3 separate regions of the Homo sapiens genome follow, and regions 2 and 3 are each linked to region 1. Evidence: promoter capture Hi-C in 16 types of primary human blood cells and fetal thymus (Javierre and others, 2016). All regions are on one chromosome and are shown on one strand. The core of a region is centred on a gene start or on the middle of the fragment in contact, and the rest is flanking DNA. Distances in the headings are between cores, read along the strand shown.

Region 1 (2,999 bases), core at 242-2,741:
GTACTATAATTAATCCTCCCTCCAAGCTTCCATACGTCCTGTCCCACAAAAATAGTAAATTGCACCAAGTATGTTTTATCAACTAAATAGCTCTTCTGCACCTTCTTCTCTCCCACAAAAACTCTACTTACAAAAGTAGGAGAGGAATGGCAGAAGCTGGAAACTGAGTTCAGGGAACTGCTACAAGATTGTTACAATCCTTATCCACGCATCCCGAGCTTTACCACAGCAGATTACCCAGAGCTTCCCAGACAAGGCCGGAGAGCCGCGGAGAGAACTATGACCCCCCTCCTCCCTCCTCCTACAGAGCAGCCTCGCTCCCTAAGGCCAAACCCGCGCCCCCCATGACCTCCAATGGCTCGAGAAAAGAGCTTTGAATTGCCCGCTTTTTCCAAAGCTGGTTCATACTCCCTCGCAAAGCAGGGAATAGGGTCTGGGGACAAAAGGAGGCACATGCCTGCCACATGAGGAAAACCCCATCACCTGGAACTCGGCGAACTCCTCACAGTTCACACCGCCACTGGGCGCCGCCATATTGGACAAACACGAGGACCCCGCTGCAGGCCAATCACCGCGGAGCAAAGGTGACCGCGGAGTCGCCTGACAAAAAATATAGTACGAGGGGAATCCTTAGGAAAGCTGAGTGCAAGGCTTGAGTTCAACGTGGTCCGCATCCACCTCGGAACCTGTCACCCTGCTGTCCCAACCCTTTTAACATGTCCTCCTGGAACTGGGCCAGATACATGGATCAAAGATTGTCAGACCTTGAAGGGACTGTTTACTCCAATCCCATCTTTTCACAAAAGGGAAACAATTTCCTTGTGGTTCCCCTACCAGGTCGTTGAAGGAAATCTAGGCAAGTGAGGCCTTTCTAATACCTCTCACTCCAGTGCCTAACCTCCTCCCCGGACCCTGGAGCAGGGGGGTCTTTGTTAAGAATTTGGGACCACTAAGAAACGTCAAGAAAAAACGGCATTTCTGGCAGTGTGGGTGGGTATGAGTAAAGTGTTTAGGATGGAGATGATCAAATGTTTTTAGAAAATAGGTAAATAGAAAACAAATTGAAAACATACATGTTAATTTCTCAGATTAGCCTGAGGGATGCTCCAACAAGAGATAGGGCCACTGAGCAGAGTCCAATTATGTGTTTTCTGATAAAAGCATATGTTCATTGAAAACACTGGAAGAGCGGCATACTGGAATACTGGTTTATCTGGTGTATTTCGGGAGTTTACAGATCACGAAAGTTGCACATTTCCTTTCTATTTCACACAGGTACTCCCATGGGTACATATCCGCTAGGGCAAGGGCCCACGGCGCCACACTCCACAGGACCATCTCCGAGGCTGGCTCAGGATGCGGCGCCAGGGGCACTAGGCTGGCGCCGCGGGTCTCCAGCGCGTGGCGCACGTCCTACACGCCCCGCACTGGCGCAGGCCTGTACACCGCGTCGCGCACGCCCCGCCCCCCGGCGCCGCCTGCGTCCTTCCCACTCCAACGCTGGGTGACATTGAGCTCACCAGCGCCACCGTCCCCGGCGAAGTTCTGCGCTGGTCGGCGGAGTAGCAAGTGGCCATGGGGAGCCTCAGCGGTCTGCGCCTGGCAGCAGGTGAGACGCCGGTCGGGATATGGGAGGTAGGGGAGCTGGCCCGGCCGCTGCGGGTGGGGGAATCCTGAAGCCTTCCTGGGCCCCGGAGTGGCTCCATTCCATGACGCACTTTCTCGGTTCCTCAGAATCCTACCTACTTAGTAGCCATGTGGGAGGGAACTAGGTGAGCAGCTGCTGATAGGCATTGGAGACTGCCCGTGAATTACCCTCATCTCCATCCACCCAGCTCCCACCAACTTAACTGCCCACGCGCCTACCCTTCTCCCCACCCCCGTCCTCAGCCTCCCCTGAGCTCAGTCTGTAAAGCACCTACTATCCCTAGACCTCCCCTTTACCCATGCATTCAGCTTTCCACCCTAACCTCCCCTATCTATTGCTCTCCTTGAGTCTTCCCTCTTCCCCCTGCTCCTTCCTCTCTGGAGTTTATCCCAGAAAACCTCCAGTCTGAAGTTTCCCCACTCATTAAATGTCTGATTAGGCCAAGGATTTAGGTCTTAGAGATTAATAATAATTGTTTTCTTAAAATGGAGGATACATTACTTTTAAACACTTATACAATTAATTGATTCGAATTTCTTGGAGGAAGTGTGTAATTGAAGGATCTGCAGTTTGTTTTGGTGGTAGACATTTGTGTGATGACTATTTTGGACTTAGGTAATGAAAGCTTAATTCTTTTTTTTTGGGAGAACCAGCAGAGCCTTGGCATAGTAGGGGTTGAGAAATCAGAGGGCTTGCATTTTGACTCTTTTCTGGGTACCAGAGATCTTTTGTTCAATGGCACACACTACATTATTAAAAAGTTGTTAATTAAATTTTTAAAGGAAAAATAGCCCCAAACTTGGCTATTCAAATAATATAAATATATATTGTAATGTAAATGAAGTAATGCAAAAAAAAAGAGTGAATGTTGCATAGTTTCACAAGTTTGATACATAACCTTCCCCACCTCAAGATTATCCTTTACACAGCTTATCTAGTGTTCCGGTAGAGAATGGACTGGAAAACATGTCTCAAACTAGAGAGTATTATTATATTTACTTCCTTTAAAAGCAAACACTTCTTCCACTAAAATCCTCAATACTATGATTTCATTGATTTTGTCAGTTTTGTTGAACTAATTCACCTAAAATATCTTCTGTACATCCTATTAACATTATGAAGCTTTTCAACAAGGCAAGTGAAAGGATCATTGCTCTGTAAAAAAGTTAAAATGGACTGCATGAAAAGAACTTTGACATCTTGGAACTACTTTGACATCTTTGAACTAATACTGAGTATATTGTAAGTAGTTCATCTTCTTGCTTTGAGAATATATTTATGCATCTTGCATAAATATATTTTTGCATCTCTGCAAACTTCTGATGTGTAAAAACTTCACTATTGACCACTT
Region 2 (2,999 bases), core at 143-2,642, 580 kb before region 1:
AGGACAAGTTATCATTACTTCACTTGGATTAGTATGATTGCCTTTTGTGTCTAGAGTTTTCTTCCCCTTAATCTACCTTCACATAGTCACCAGAGTAACAAAATTGAAATGTAATCTGACCACTTTCGTCTACTTTAAAAATCTTCAATGGTCCCCGTTGCCTATAGGATTAGACTCCGTTTCCTCAACACAGCATATAAATTCTTCATGACTTTGAGTCTCAGCCGAGCTTGCTAGTCACCTCCCTATATGGAACTTTATATCCCAACAATAATGAATTTGTACCTACTTTTCATCCTCAGCATGTTGTTTCTTATCTCTGTGCTTTTGTTTATGTTGCCTGGAATTACTGCTTTCTCTTTCTCCTCTTCCTCCCTGGCCAATATACCATCCTTGAAGTTTCATCTCAGATATTACCTTCTCCAGGAAGCACCTCCCCTCGGTTTGGGTTAGAAGGTCCTTTAACATTTATGGTCACTTTTAATATTGTAATTTAATGTATACAATGATGTTTGTGTTTTCCATTCTATTGTAAGCTCTTTGAAGACAAGGTTTATATCTTAATCAACTCTATAATTGCAATGACAGACAGCAGCTGCATAATAAATTCATACTAAACTGAAAGAATGGATTATTTCAATTGTGTATACTCTGCCCTTCCATGTTACCCTGAATAATTGCCAATTGCTTCTTTTATACCCTTCTTGAGCATCTGTAAAAATACCAAGCTTGAAGTTTATTAAATAAATGTGATTAAACATTTTTTGTTGTGATCTCAATATTTTTCTTCAGATTATCACACTAATTCTCTTCTTTAAGCCTGAGATTTGAGCTAAAAATCTTAAGCTCTGGTATAAGGTATCAATTTAATAATAAATTTCCAGTCTTTTGTAGTATTTTATATTAATTTTTCTGAAAGACAATGGTGATGGAACTTCAGCATTATATACAAGTATATAGTGCATATACTTGTATATACATTATATACGAGTATATAGTGCATATACTTGTATATACATTATATACAAATCATATGCGGTCAATTTTAGCAAAATTGGAATAAAATTGGTAATGCTTCTGATAAAAAAAAAGCAGTAACATTTTGTAAAAACCAAGTCACCTGTTGATCTGTAGTATATTCTGTAGCATCATCATGACTGCAGATCCTATTTGGACATTGTCAGCTTGCAGTAAATGTAAGAAATGATCACTTTGTAGTACTAAAGGAAAAGAAAAAAAAAGAAAGATTAAAGTAAAGATTTTATGATAACAAAGGAAGATTTTGTTCTTTTCAAACCAAATCAAAGCATGACCATCTCTGCTAAACTTTCTGACTTTGTAGACTCTACGATAAAGAAGACTTTAAGATGTAAAATTCATGGCAATTTTAAATAGCGATAAATAAGTCATTTCATTTTTATGAATATAGTCAGAAAATAGGCATAAATACTAAGCTAAGAATCTATTGTTATCTCTTTAAATTGAAAATATCATATCCTAAATCTGAATCTTTTTCTTCTATCAATGAATTTCAGTGAATAAAAACAAATTTCCTGCAAAGACAGAATATAAGGAAACGGAAATGGCACAGATGACTATAATTGGTTGCTCACAACCTTAAAAAATTTAATTTTGTGACATATTGTTTTATATAATAATGAATACGCTAACTACAAAAATTTCCTTTTATTGATTTGTAATCTTTAAGCTCTGAGCAGCCAGTTATAACGATTTAGCACTGGATACTTATACAAGTTGCTTAACCTCTTAGAAACCATTTCTTCATCTGTAAAACTAGAAATAATAGCTCTCACATGAGCTAATGTAAAATATCCTAGAACAGGGAACATTTCTAATAAATGTCAGTTTCCATTCCATTCCATGCTCAATAACTGAGCATAACTACCAAAGGTATTAGTTATACTAACTGAACGTAGTTGCCTTTGGAAAATGGGAAATGGAGTGGGCATGAGGGTCAGGGATTGTGTGTGTTTTAATGATCCTTACAGAACTATTTGACTCTTTAAATTATGTGCATGCAATGATTCTGAGGAGAAAAGCTTAAAGTAAAATTTCAGTTCAAGTATTACTTAAAAAATATTCTTAAGAGTGTTACATCTATATTAGATGAAATTTTTCTAGGGAGAGCACCATGAATGTAACTAAGAATTATTTTTTCAGTCTTAAGAAAACATAAAACTCATACATGTTTATATCTCTCAATGTAAACAGAAATATCCTATAACTTCCAAGTTTACTAAAAGGTCATTAAATAAAAGCTTACTCTTACTTGGATAGTTAGACTATATGAGTTAAATCATATCCACCCTGAACATAGGGATTTCTCTCATGATAGGTCTAAAACACTGACTGTAATCTTTTAAACTTAAAAGTTATTTTTAGGAATAAACTGCTCAAATTATCATTTGTCTTTATCTTAGATTTGCTAAACAGAAAAAGCTAAAGTTTTATTTCAACAGTATTCTCCTTAATTTAATATTCACATTGTTGATGTAGGCTATGTAAAACTGGAATATCCATTTTAAAAAATTGTGAGCTTATTTCAACATGGTTTCATTTCAGTGTGGTTATCTGCACAGTTCATGTGGCATTTGTTTTTGGAAAAAACGATCAAACTGTTAGCAGTTGACTCTACAATAGCTATTAGTTACATTAAAATCTTTTCTCTTACCATTCTGAATAAGTTCAACATGGCCTCCCAAAAGCCAGAAGAGAGAATCAGTCACAATTTGGAAAAAGTGTAGTAATTCATCTTTTTCTTCAGCCTTAACATAAAAGATAAGCCCAGTTTACTTTTCTATAGTTTTTTTCCTTTTTTTTTTTTTTAAGGAGACTTCTCTCTGGGGAGTTAGAGGATACAGTTTCTGGATCTAACTTAGCTATTTATGAGGGACATGATTTTGTTGCCTTTAGTTTCTTAATTTGTAAAACTTGTGGTTACAGGATAGTAATATCTACTAGAAATGGTTGTTATCCAG
Region 3 (2,999 bases), core at 239-2,738, 530 kb before region 1:
TTTTGAAAGAAAAAGTTTTACTTAACTTGACTGTTAAGACTTGTCATTGGTGCTGAGATTGGCATATTTTTGGCATTGACTCTTTATCTTATGGGGTGCTTCTGTGGGCTTTTATGAAATAGCCCACTGCAAACTTCTAACTATCCTTCTATTATTCAGGCAATGCATTTCTAGTGGTTATGTATAATTCAACCCTCAAATCCTACACTTATGAGGCTCCTATATGTATGAGGGGTACTCCAGATGACCCTCTTGGGCAAAGTCCCTTCCCAAATGAACCTAGTCTGGTTTTCTCCAATGGGTTTACTTAGCCGACACAGGAACATAGTCCATTACATTCTTGGGACCTCATCTGATTTTAGGACCAGAGTCCTATTTTAACATTGTTTTAAAGTTATATTTTTTAATGAAGTATATCTTTAATTATTACAAAATAACATTTTTGTCCTATTTTTGTGTTTTTAAGCTTAAGTGCCTACTTCTCTGATATATATATATATGTATGTATATATATATATATCAACCTTTTTTTCTTTTGTGTGTTCACAGAATCTTAGTGTCTCTTCCTTTTATTTAGCTGATATTTATATAGCTATCTTTACTTTTTTTCTTTTGTGTATTCATAGAATCTTAGTGTTTCTTCCTTTTATTTAGCTGACATTTTGTATGAAGTATATCTTTTGTTAATATAGTATGCTGTTTTATTTTTAAACCCAGTTTGGCACTTTCTATTTTTATTGGGAGAATACTGTCTATTCAGTCTATTCACATTTAGTTCAAAATTGATATACTTGATTTTTATCTTATAGTTTATTAGTTTTTAAATATTTGTTGTTTCTTCTTTTATATTCTTTATTAGTTTTACCAACCATTTCTTTTTTTCCCTTTGTCTTTGATTTTTTTTTCATTGCTTTTTTTGATTACTCTTATTACTTTGGGAGTACTAGTATACTTTTCCATTCCATTATTGATTATTTTCTTTTCCTGGTGTTCATAATGAGGCATATGATTTTATTTTCTTATATGAAAACTGAGTTCCTCCATTATTTTCCTACCTCTATCAAGTGAGATTTTTAGAATACATTTATTATCCCTTAATAATAAGACTTTTTTTCTCCTCCCTTCCACTTCTCTTTCTTTCCACCTCAGCCAAGCACCTAAGTTTTTGCCAAGATATTGTGTTACATTATAGAATATCTTCATGTCAAGAATACTTATTTAGCTCTTACATTATACATTCTCAGACAGTCTATTCTTATTCTTTTTTTTATTATTTTTTGAGACGGAGTCTCACTCTGTCACCCAGGCTGGAGTGCAGTGGCGCAATCTTGGCTCACTGCAACCTGCATCTCCTGGGTTCGAGCAATTCTCCTGCCTCAGCTTCCCAAGTAGCTGGGATTACAGGCAGTGCCCGCCACCATGCCCAGCTAATTTTTTGCATTTTTAGTAGAGTTGGGGGTTCACTATGTTGACCAGGCTGGTCTCAAACTCCCGACCTCAGATGATCCACCTCCCTTGGCCTCCCAAAGTGCTGGGATTGCAAGCGTGAGCCACCGTGCCCGGCCAAGTCTATTCTTATCCATTTAAAGTTAAGTATATATAAATAGCCAGATTTCTTTTATCACTTCTTTTATTTATATTTATATTTTCTCTTCATTCCCCTATGTTGAGGTGTTGGTTCTGATTCCTTTGTTGTATGGTTAAGAGTCCTTTTATTCCCTCAAATAACATATGCACGCACTTATTTTATTTATTTTTTAGAGACAAGATTTCATTCTGCCACTCAGGCTGGAGTGCAGTGGCACAATTATAGCCCACTGCAGCCTCCAACTCCTGGGCTCAAGCAATCCTCCTGCCTCAGCCTTCCAAGCAGCTAGGACTACAAATGTGCACCACCATGCCCAGCTAATTTTTAGTTTTTTTTTTGTGGACACAGGTTGTCCCCATGTTGCCCATGCTGGTCGGAAACTCCTGGGCTCAAGTGATCCTTAGCCATCTAAAATGGTGGGATTACATGCATGAGTCACCACACATGACCCACTCACTTATTTTATATTTTATTTTACAGTTTTGTCTTTTGGTTGACAATCCTAAGTCAGTCATTCATGTGAACCAATTATAAGCAATTCTATGTGGTTTGTAAACAGTGGCAAATTAAGAAAGTTGGAGAGTAGATGAGAAGATCATGGAGGGTCCATGTGCAGGTTTATGGAATATGGCTTTATCTGAATACACAGTTTTTTAAGCACAGAAAGATTTTTAAGCAAGGGAACAATACGATTAGATTTGCCTGCTCACAGAATGGGGAACAAAATTGGAAAGAGAGTAGGGAGGAGAATAACAATAATCTAGGTGAATGACGATTGAAGGTGTGTCATCACAGTGAACATGGAGCCGATAGGTGGTATTCAATAGTTATTTAGAGGCAATGATAGTTCATATGCTTAGTAGTTGTCTGGTACTTTAGTAGTTGCCTTTCTTGGGGTATTGAATAAGGAATGGACAGAAACTGAAGCTTAAAAGTTAGGAATGGTGTTCAATTTAATGAGGGAGAAAGTTTACATTTATAAAACTTGTTCAAAATGTAGATGGCAGGTGTAGAGATTATGAAAGATTTGTTTCATTTGTTACTTATGACCAGAAATTGTCTATATTATTCATATTTAACCTTCATTGAATATTTATAAAGGTCTTGATACTTCTTCAGGTGCTGAGAGCAATTTTTTAAAAATTAATGATTAGTTCTTATTTTCAGGAGCTCAGAGAACAATAATACATTGTAATTTTTAGATGTATTCCATTCTAATTAAGAGTACAGATATCATTAAGAATATCTTGCACAAATCTCTTATCAACTGTAATTTGGAGTCCTTAGGTAACTATTTTGGGGTATCTTACTTGTTTCAGTCAACACATCTGAAAAATTTACTTACCAGCCAAGTAGACCCACTTTGTTTGGTTATAATCATGCTCCTGACTCTCCAGCTTACCAGGGCTTC

Evidence for each region. The method cuts DNA at HindIII sites, captures the fragments that hold promoters and counts their contacts. A CHiCAGO score of 5 or more calls a contact.
Region 2: a fragment that was not itself captured here is called in contact with the fragment with the promoter of FAM162A in region 1 in 1 of 17 cell types (monocytes); the score reaches 5.0 in monocytes.
Region 3: a fragment that was not itself captured here is called in contact with the fragment with the promoter of FAM162A in region 1 in 1 of 17 cell types (M2 macrophages); the score reaches 5.0 in M2 macrophages.

What each region holds. Positions count from the first base shown.
Region 1 is chr3:122,382,691-122,385,689 of GRCh38, forward strand. It overlaps FAM162A (family with sequence similarity 162 member A), which reads left to right and starts at 1,492. Exons shown (of 5, transcript NM_014367.4): 1 at 1,492-1,609. The coding sequence starts at 1,576. MIX23 (mitochondrial matrix import factor 23) reads right to left here and starts at 541. Exons shown (of 5, transcript NM_001017928.4): 1 at 484-541. The coding sequence starts at 534. RefSeq lists enhancers at 1,303-1,803, 1,627-1,676 and a silencer at 1,387-1,536. The HindIII fragment of the contact is 2,247 bases long and covers 25-2,271 here.
Region 2 is chr3:121,806,224-121,809,222 of GRCh38, forward strand. IQCB1 (IQ motif containing B1) reads right to left here. Exons shown (of 15, transcript NM_001023570.4): 6 at 2,693-2,786; 7 at 1,121-1,220. Among named protein-coding and RNA genes, the nearest start is that of IQCB1, 27 kb to the right of the region's middle. The HindIII fragment of the contact is 1,332 bases long and covers 727-2,058 here.
Region 3 is chr3:121,849,436-121,852,434 of GRCh38, forward strand. All of the region lies in intron 2 of EAF2 (ELL associated factor 2), which reads left to right. Among named protein-coding and RNA genes, the nearest start is that of EAF2, 16 kb to the left of the region's middle. The HindIII fragment of the contact is 2,049 bases long and covers 465-2,513 here.